Regions from separate parts of the Homo sapiens genome. Here region 1 is linked to region 2. Evidence: promoter capture Hi-C in 16 types of primary human blood cells and fetal thymus (Javierre and others, 2016). All regions are on one chromosome and are shown on one strand. The core of a region is centred on a gene start or on the middle of the fragment in contact, and the rest is flanking DNA. Distances in the headings are between cores, read along the strand shown.

The links. The method cuts DNA at HindIII sites, captures the fragments that hold promoters and counts their contacts. A CHiCAGO score of 5 or more calls a contact.
Region 1: a contact is called between a fragment that was not itself captured here and the fragment with the promoter of RMDN2-AS1 in region 2, in 1 of 17 cell types (M0 macrophages). The highest score is 5.2, in M0 macrophages.

The regions. Positions count from the first base shown.
Region 1 is chr2:38,286,494-38,291,379 of GRCh38, forward strand. It overlaps the pseudogene GAPDHP25. Among named protein-coding and RNA genes, the nearest start is that of ATL2, 88 kb to the right of the region's middle. The HindIII fragment of the contact is 167 bases long and covers 3,051-3,217 here.
Region 2 is chr2:38,034,085-38,039,117 of GRCh38, forward strand. RMDN2-AS1 (RMDN2 antisense RNA 1) reads right to left here and starts at 2,257. Exons shown (of 4, transcript NR_102712.1): 1 at 2,066-2,257. It also overlaps a transcript of RMDN2 not described here. RefSeq lists a silencer at 4,513-4,582. The HindIII fragment of the contact is 2,287 bases long and covers 788-3,074 here.

The sequences.
Region 1 (4,886 bases), core at 1,884-4,383, 250 kb after region 2:
TCTCCCCTCCTCACAGTTTCCATCCAGACCCCCTGAAGAGGGAGGGGTCTAGGGAGCCCCACCTTGTCATGTACCACCAATAAAGTCCTCTGTGCTCAGCCAAAAAAAAAAAAAAAAAGATACTCTAGTCAGCAGGATTCCATGATTTTCACCAACAATATTCAGCTGCTAGGTATAGGTACAGGTAGAGACTTGGGTTTAAAAACAGAGCTGAAGTTTCATCAAGTGGGTACACAGGGTAGCTAAGGATATTTATAAAGGAATGGTTGTAGTGCTGGACCACTGCATCTTAGCTGAGTAAGAAGGCAAGGAGATGAGGGCAATATGTATGAACAAGCAGTAGGGTGAAAGGATAAGGCTTCCATGAGATTAGAGGATTGTTTGAAAGGAAACACTGCAGTCAATGAACTGAAAGGAAGCCATAAAATCTAGATTTGGGAGGTAGTAATGACATAGTAGAAGGGTATGACTTATGAATGAGTAGACATGGAGGACAGGAGGTCTTTTGGGGGCTGAAGAAATCAAGGGATGGGATGGGTCATTCATGTGGCATTAAGGATCCAAGAATGACCACAGAAGGAACAAGAGAAAAAGGCTGGAAGCCAGGTGCCAGAGTTATCAACGAAGGAGGAGGGGTGGTAGGGAGGTCAGTAAGATTGCCCACAGTAAGTTGGGGTGACAAGTGGAAAAGTCTGATAACTTTAAAGAAGCTGTTTTATTTGTTGTTTAATAGAAAAAAGACTTGAAAGGGTGCAATGGAGCACAGGAACATCACCTCTGTTAGGACCGGCAGTAGCTAGGGAGGGAGCAAGTCAGCCTTGAGAGGGCTGCAGGGGAGACATTCTACTAGGGGAATAGAAGACACCAGGGTTTCAGTTAAAGTGAAAAATGAAGAGAAAGCACACACAGAGAAAAAGTGTTTTGGCAAATTGCTAATAACAGACCGTGGATTATAGAGAACACAAAAGACAGGTGTGGGAGGCCATGGAAGAGTTGAAGGTGGGGTTAGATTAGGTAGTGGTTCTCAGTCCTAGCCGCACAACAGAATCATCTGGGGAACTTTTGAAAGTACTGATGCCTGCACACAGATCAACTGAATTAGAATCTCTAGGGGGTAAGGCCAGGGTATGTACAGCCCAGTAACCAAACTTTCAAATACAGTCATCCCCCAGTATCCATGGGCGATCAGTTCCAGGATCCCTGTGGATACCAAAATCCACAATGCTCAAGTCCCTTACAGAAAATGGCCTGGTATTGGCATAGAAGCTACACATATCCTCCCATATGATTCAAATCATCTCTAGATTACTTATAACTAATACAACGTCAGCGCTATAAAACTAGTTGTTTAGGGAATAATGACAAGGAAAACAAGTCTGTATTGTACATGCTCAGTACAGATGCAACCATCCACTCTTTTCAATTTTCCACCCCAGGCTGGCCGAATCCATGGATGCAGAACCCACAAATACAGAGGACTACTTCCTTGTACACACTAACACAAGTAACAGATGAGAAGGGGGAAAATGGCATCAGTGTTTATCTCTGATGAGTACATCAAAATCTTAAGGGTGAATGTCTTTATACTTTCAGATTTTCTTGTGCATTTTTCAGATTGAATTAAAAAAGGGGGCTTTTGTTTGTTTGAGGGGGATTGCTTAAAGAAAGGGGTTTATAGTACAGTCTCAATTTCTACTGTTTACACATGGAATTTATTTGGTCTGTCTGACCCAATCTGTTTCTGGTAAAGGTGCATGAAATGAGCTTTGAAAAAATATCTAAAACTTAAAAATAAAGGAAAAGGCAGTAGATCATGTCCTTTCAAAGTCATACAGGGACATTGCTTAACATGCCTATCAAGAAGGCTTCTAGGCAAATTGCTGAAGAAATGTATATATTTCTTTATGCATTGAATCCTAGCAGATTGTGTGTGTATATATAGTGTGTGTGTATATATATATATACAAACACACAATGAACTATTATTCAGCCTTAAAAAAGGAGATCCTGCCGTTTGTGACAAGGAACCTAGAGGACGTTATGGTAAGTGAAATGAGTCAAACACAGAAAAATACTGCATGATCTCACTTATGTGTGGAATCTAAAAGTAACAGAAAGAAAGAGGAAAAAAAATCAAATACACAGTAACAGAGAGTAGAATGGTGGTTACCAGGAGCAGGGGAAATGGGAAGATGTAGGTCAAAGGGTAAGTCTAGAGATCTAACGCACAGCATGAGGACTACAGTTAATAATATTGTATTGTGTATTGGAAATCTGCTAAGACAGCTTTTAGATGCACTTAGTACAAAAAAAAAAAGGAGGGGGTAACCATGTGAGATGATGAATATGTTAATTTGCTTGACTATAGTATCATTTCACTATATAAAATGGCATATTACATACTTTTAATATATGTAATTTTTAAAAGTTAACATATAATGAGCTTATTTTTTAATGTTTTAACATTTTTGTTTTAATTTCTAATAAGATAAATATTGGCAGATCATTTGGAGGCCTCAATTTTTAAGAGCCAAAGGGGATCCTGAGACTCAAGTCTGAGACTCACTGATCTATATTTGTTTGGCGTTGCCATTTACTACTAAGGGCGCACATTACTCAGCATACTCATTTCAAAATGCCCTTCCTGGTGGACTACATAACTCCTATTTCTCCAATTCTGCTTTGAAACAGCCTTTTGCCATCTCCGGTTTCCTCATTAAGAAGTTGAATAAATTTTATTATGTATTCATTGTGTATTTGGACAACAGTCATGTATAATTTTAAGGATTATATTTTGATAGAAGGTACGATCTGCTGATTTATACAATTTAGTCCTGAGTTTCTTTTCTCTGTATTCAAAAGCTGATGAAAGAACAGGGAACATTATGAAGTCTCATAATCATTCTTAAACATTTCCCTAATGAAATGAAAGAAGACTGCAATCATCAGCTATGTCTAAAACTATTGTGTTCCTTCACAAAAGTATTTAAAAGGAAAGAACAAGTACAAAGTTTGTGAAGCAAAATGACATAGTTTTGAAAGAAGATCCAAGCTTGAGAATGGGTCTCTAATTTGAGAGATAACATTTACTTTAATATGGAAGAAGAGCACACTTTCAATCTATTGCCAAGATCTTTCCTTCCCAATACAAGCTCCACCTTCCTCCCAGGGAAACAACACAGTACAACAACATAATTTCAGCTCTGTCTGTGCAGAAAGCTTTCTTAGTCAGGAAGGTATAAAAACAGCAGGAGAAATCCATAATTCTGCTACTCATTAGGAAACACTTAACACTGATCTCAGGCTTCAGTATGCATTAGAATTATCTGAGAGACCTGGTAGAAATACAGATTTAAATTCACTATGCAGGGTGGGAGGGATAGCATTAGGAGATATACCTAACATAAAAGATGAGTTAATGGGTGCAGCACACCAGCATGGCACATGTATACATATGTAATGAACCTGCACGTTGTGCCCACGTACCCTAGAACTTAAAGTATAATAAAAAATAAATAAATTCACTATGCAATGTGGGGGCGGGTGGGGGGCGGCCACACAGCACTCCAGGTGACTCTAATCGAAAATAAAAAGCGAGCCAGGTGGAGTGGTGCATGTCCATAGCCCTAGCAACTTGGGAGGCTGAGGTGGGAGGACTGCTTGAGCCCAGGAGTTTGAGACCCCACCCCCATCCCTTAAAAAATAAAAAATAAAAATAAAAATTCATACTTTGGGAAACTATACTAAAGTATTAGAATTGGCCGCATAGCTGTTGTGTTTTTCTAAGAATCGTCCGTGTAACCTTAATATCTAAATGTCAAGCCCCTCTACCTGATCTGAAAGGCCCTTCACAATCTTGCCCAGGTCTTTAAACTTCAACTCCACTCCTACATCCGTCTCTGCCCTTCAGTAACTCCCTAGTACAGCCACGCTGAACCATTTCTGTATTCCTTCCTGATATCCACCCTTCTCTCTCTTTCCTCTTCTCTGGGTGGGACTATTTATTCTTCACAGCGGTGTGATAGGGTGGGTAAGTACATAGCTCTCTGGACTCTAAAGCCAGTAGACCTGGTTTCCAATCCCGGAGCACCCTCACTTTGGTAAATGTGGTTGACCTCTCTGAACCTGAGATGCCTCCTCTATAAAATCAGAGATAAGAATACCCACCCCAAGGCTATTGCATGAGCACTGGCAGCATTCAGTATAGATGCTAAACATGTTTATACCCCCCAACACACAGAAAACCTTCAGTCTTCCCAGGAAAAACTGCCCTGTCCTCTCTAAATAATATAAACATCCCTCTTGGAGATAAACACACATTATACAGGCCTGTAAACCCAATTCTGGTAGGACTTATAAGCAGATACTTAGGAAAATGCATTAGATCAAATCAGTATACTGAAGTTTTAAAAATAACACAGGCCAGGTGCAGTGGCTCACACCTGTAATCCCAGCACTTTGGGAGGCTGAGGTGGGTGGATTGCCTGAGGTCAGGAGTTTGAGATCAGCCTGACTAACAAGGTGAAATCCCATCTCTACTAAAAATACAATAACTAGCCAGGTGTGGTGGCAGGTGCCTATAATCCCAGCTACTCGTAAGGCTGAGGCAGGAGAATCGCTTGAACCTGGGAGGCAGAGGTTGTAGTGAGCCGAGATTGTGCCACTGCACTCTAGCCTAGGTGACAGAGCAAGACTCCATCTCAAAAAAAAAAAAAAAAAAGGAGAACCCAAATCCATAAGGTAGCCTACCCTCACCATCCCCCAAAGTTATTTTACCAGAGGGTTTTTAATGATCATATTCCTTCATAGTTTGATTATTTTGATGCCAAGGGCAGAAAAAGCAACCACTGATATTTAGGATCCCACAGTTGCCAAATAACCACTAA
Region 2 (5,033 bases), core at 1,007-3,506:
AAGACTTCTAGCAGTGTCCTCGACAGGAAGTCACCACTGTGCTGAGGCAAGGCAGTGGGTCTTTAGGAGGTCAGGTTTCTTCCCACCCTTTGACTGCTCTGCCTGTAGATGTGTCAGCTCTTATCCCACTTCTGCTGAGAAGAGCATCCTTCAGCCGTGACACTAAACTTGTGTGAGGATGATGCAGAGAGGCTGGGCACAGGCCACATAGGCTCACCCTCTACCACTATCTTGGACATATTAGGTTCCTACATGATGGGGAGATCAGGAGGGCTAGGGGAGCCTAGTTATAGTTGCTTTATTGGAACTGTCTGGCATAGAAGAAGACATTCAGAGGGCAATAAAGATCAGACTTTTTCAGAGGCAAACAGGTGAACTTCCAGTGATTTATTCTTAGTTAACCAACCTTCAACCAACTGATAAGATAAACAGTATCCCTAATGCTGATCCTAAAGCATTCGAGATCCTGAAGTATCTTCAGCATTATCAAAAAGGATTAAATTGTATTGTGGTAAACAATGATATTTTAATTTTAAAAATTTATTATAATCCTCTAAACCCATGCTCTCCAAACTTTCTTATTTTATGCTTGAATCGGTTGTAAAAATTGTCATCCCCTAATATATTTATATTTATTTATTTATAAATTATACGTATTAATACCCTACTAAAATTTTCATGATAAAACATATACAAATATAAAATATTTTAAAGGGCAAGAATGTTTTCTTGATTTTAAAATTTAATAAGTAGAAATAAAGGAATACTGTTTTAATATTTAAAAAAAAGCTTTTTATCTGAGCTCATCATGCCTACTAACAAAGTATTTAGAAGCATTTATGCTGAAGTAAGGACAGGAAAAATGACACTGTCACTACTATTATTGAATATTGTTCTAGAGATACTAGCTCTAATTAGGAAAGACAAACAAATTAGAATATTTGAAAGTAATACATTAACAGAATATGGTAAGTATCATTTATGTTGGCAAATAAATTCACGTGTGAAAAACCTGAAAGAACGAACTACAAAACATTCTTCAACAATAAAAGAATAAATATATAGAAATCAGTAGCCATGACAAATACAGATGGCAGCCAGTTAGAAGGTGTACTGGAAGGTAATGCCTCATTTACCCTGAGTAAAACAAGATCAAATATCTAGGAATAAATATAAGAATCATGTCTGATAGGCAAGCAGAAATTGAAGGAACCCCAAAAGTTTGAACAAATAAAAAGACACACTATATTTTGATTAGGAAGACAGCATCCTAAAATTATCCAATATCCTTCAATTAATCTACAAATTTGATAAAATTCCAATACAAATACCAACAAGATTCTTTTTATGTTCTGAGGTTCAAATGGAAAATCAAACAAGTAAGAGTAGTTGTGAAAATACTGAAGAAGTCAAGCAATGAGGGGCAACAATACCTACCAGATAAGAAAAAATGCATAAAGCTATCATACTCAAAGAAATATGAATGAATAGACAAATCAGTGAAATAGAATATAAAGTCCATAAATACATCCTAATACACATAAAAATGTATATGATAAAAGAGGCATGTAAAATGAGTTATTCAATAAATGAGTCCCTGGAAGATAAGGAGGGTGGGAAACAGATAGGATAGGCTATGAATTATTAAGCAACTGGTTTATATCTAGTTTAACCAGCAAGATGCAGGAGCATCTTCAACTTAGTTTTCTCATAGCACCATGATGTCCACAAATCCACTTACAAGCAATAGTTCTGTCTTTCCCAATGTTACATTCCAAGCATTCACAACCGTATCTGGACACAGAAACTCTACCATGGTACCAAACAGTAATTACTCTGCAGAGGTAATAGGTGCACACACTATTTAGGTCTGAATACCACAGCAGGGAAAGGTATGCCAGCTAGGAAGGAAATAAAATCTCAGGAAAAACGAGGGCAAGTAGAAAAAAAAAAAGATAAGAGGAACTAAATAGCCTCGCTGGGCACATACTCATGGGAACCCTGCTGATGTTGCCCAACTTGAAGATAAAGAGATGCCTATGATATAGAATCATGAAGATCTCACCTCAGAGAGATCCGTGATATGTCACCCAGGAGCATCCGTCACCTGCCGGAGCACTGTACCAGGAAACCAGAGGCATGGTTCTGTGTAATCTCGAGCAAGCTAAGTGGCCATGATGAGAATGCTTCTTCCTACTGTGCCCAGCTACAGGATTTATGTAAGAATGACACGAAATGACAGATGTGAGTACACTTTGCAGCTCTGATCAGTGGTATCCTAATAAAGAAGAATTGTTAGCTTTGAGTTGAGCCTTGTTTGTAACAGGCACTCACTTCACTGTTGTTGCCTTTTATGTTCCGGAGTCCTGCATGATATGGACTCCAGGATAGCAAGAGTCCACATACCCCTCCCCAAGAGAAATTAAGCTGGGAGCCATGGAATTATCATCATCTCCTTGCCACCCTGTCCAACTGCAGGTCGTGGGAAGCTGAATTTACCCTGTGAGACTTCTGCTTCATTTACATTCATCTTGGCAGGCAGTGGTGGGTCGTGGGGAACCTGTTGAAAGCATGACAGCAATGAAGGCTTTCTTACATGCTGAACTCACATCAAAGCTCTTTTCTTCTGTGCTGACACATGTAACTCTTTACCAGTCTGATGATAACACATACAGAGACAGACCCTCGGATTCCTGCTGGGGAGAAAACAGAGCCAGAGATATGCTGTACTGAGCTGGCAAATACAGTGTTCTTTCTGTTAAAATCTGATGGGAAAGTAACTAGGCAAAAATCCATGGTGCTGGCTACGGTACAAAGATGACCAAGGCTGTCTCAGGTATCCTGGTGGCTTTATTGTCTATTTCCGGGAAAAGAGTAGGTAGGGATCAAGAGCAAAGAACATGGGAAAATGTGCTGCTTTGTCATTGCAGTTCATTTATTTCCTAGAAATTTTGGCTTCTAGGGAAAGGCAGCGTGATATAAAAAAGAAAAAGGTACTGGACTCAACCTGATTTAAATCCAGACCTGACACTTTGCTACCTGGATGAACTTGGGTAAGTGACCTAAGCTCTCTAAGCTTCAGTTTCCTCATCTGTAAAATGAGGATGAAATTTTCTATGCAAGATTTTGTAAGGAAGATCAAATAAATGGACATAAAGCAATTGACACATAAATATGGAAACGATTTCTCAGCTTTCCTCCCTGAGGGACAGAGACTCTTCAGGCTACTTAAATTCTCCCCAGACTTTTCCAAGTTGCTCTTTATCCTCATACCCTGGCCACACCACAAAAGCTGCCCACATAGAAGAACTTGGTGAAGACTTGCTGACTATTCCCCTAAATTCTGCTTGTTTAATAAACATCTGCAGAGACAGGCTCAGCAATGGGCTCATTGTGGAGAATCCCAGAAGTGTGTGGCAACACCAAAGGAATTTTATGAAAGTCCCAGGAGAGAGAAACTGTCGTTCAAGTCATCACATAGCAAACTGCCCCTAACACGTGCTGCACACACATTAGGTGGTGACTCAGTTTTGGTGTTTGACTTGAGTCTTAAAACATAGTTCAGAACCTGATGATACTTCCCTGAATTCCCATTTTTAGTGTGAAAGTGTGTTCGGCTTCCCGTTGGCTATTGGGAGCTTGAAAGAAATTCAAGGAAGGAGACCTACAAACTGCTTATAAAGGATACTGCGTGAGCTTTATGCACTTTGGCTCTTTTAATCCATTCCACAAGGCCGTGATGCCCATTTTACAGATGATGAAACTCTTTCTGAGGTTAAGTAGCTCACACGGTGCCACAGCTAGCGACTGCGTGAGCTGAGTCACATCCAGATCGTTCAGTATGAGAATTTTAAGAGAAGATAAACATGTGATTCTCTCGAAACTCGGTGTTCTGTAGCCTGCAAACCCCTCTGGAGCCTGGTGTTTGCTTTGCTTGCAAGCCTGACCTCCGAGGCTCCTGCCATCTTCCTTCCCTCTTCTCCCCTCCATTCTCCCCTTTCCCGAACCGTTTCTTTCCCCCATTCCTTCCCCATCTAAACCACAGAAAAGCACTTCCAGGCTCCATTTCAGCCAGCAAAAATCTCAAGCCCAGGGGAGGGCTTCCGGGACTTTCCACTGGAGGCTCTTAGACTTAGACGCAGCGTCCTCTCCTGGAGGGAGCGCAGCGCCCCCCGGGCGCAAGGGGGACGCGTTCAAGCGAGGGCGGACGCCGACTGCGAGTCTCTTTGTGCAGCACTTTGTCTTTCTCTCCCTTGGGGTGTTTTTGGGATTCCCCAACAATAGAATGAGCTGAGTTCTGCGTTACTGATTCAGTTATCTCGGTACAAGGCGGAAAGTGCCGGGAGGAAAACTGATACCCCGTATTGAGCAAGCTGTTTTCTGGGAAACTCCGAACTGTCTCCTGCACGGTTCAGGCCCGGTTACCGCTGCCTGCAACCCCCGCCTCGGAGCCAGCTGCGCCTGGAGCTAAAGCCTCAGCTTTTTAAGGCATGGTTTGCACTCTTTTATAGTTGCTGAGCTACGCTAGGGCCAAACCAACCACTCATCATCAACCTCTATTCACAGCATCTAGAATAAAACCTGCCACATGGCAGGCACCCAGTAAAAGCCTTTTGGAATCGGAATAGAAGGTGGGTTGATTACACTGGGTGCTTCTCACAGCCCACAGGGTTGGGACTGACAAGTATTCCGGCATTAGTAAGGGCAGAGACACTTTGGGCTGGCCAGACCTGATCCTGGGGAGGATCACTGGGTCATTTCTTGGCATCTCCCATCCCATCCCTGCCCTGATAGGTTTCGCCCCTTTCAGCACTCGGAGGGCCAGGCTGGTGGTTCCCATAGAGGTGTACCGCCTGGCAGCCAAACAGGGAAGGGTGTTCCCTTCTGCTCAGTTTTGATTTGAGCTTTGCAAGTGACAATGAAAATAATATTTTTGAGCAACAGTTTAAAAGCCAGATGCTATACACACACACACACACACACACACACACACACACACACACACACACAGAGAGAGAGATAAAATGTTCATG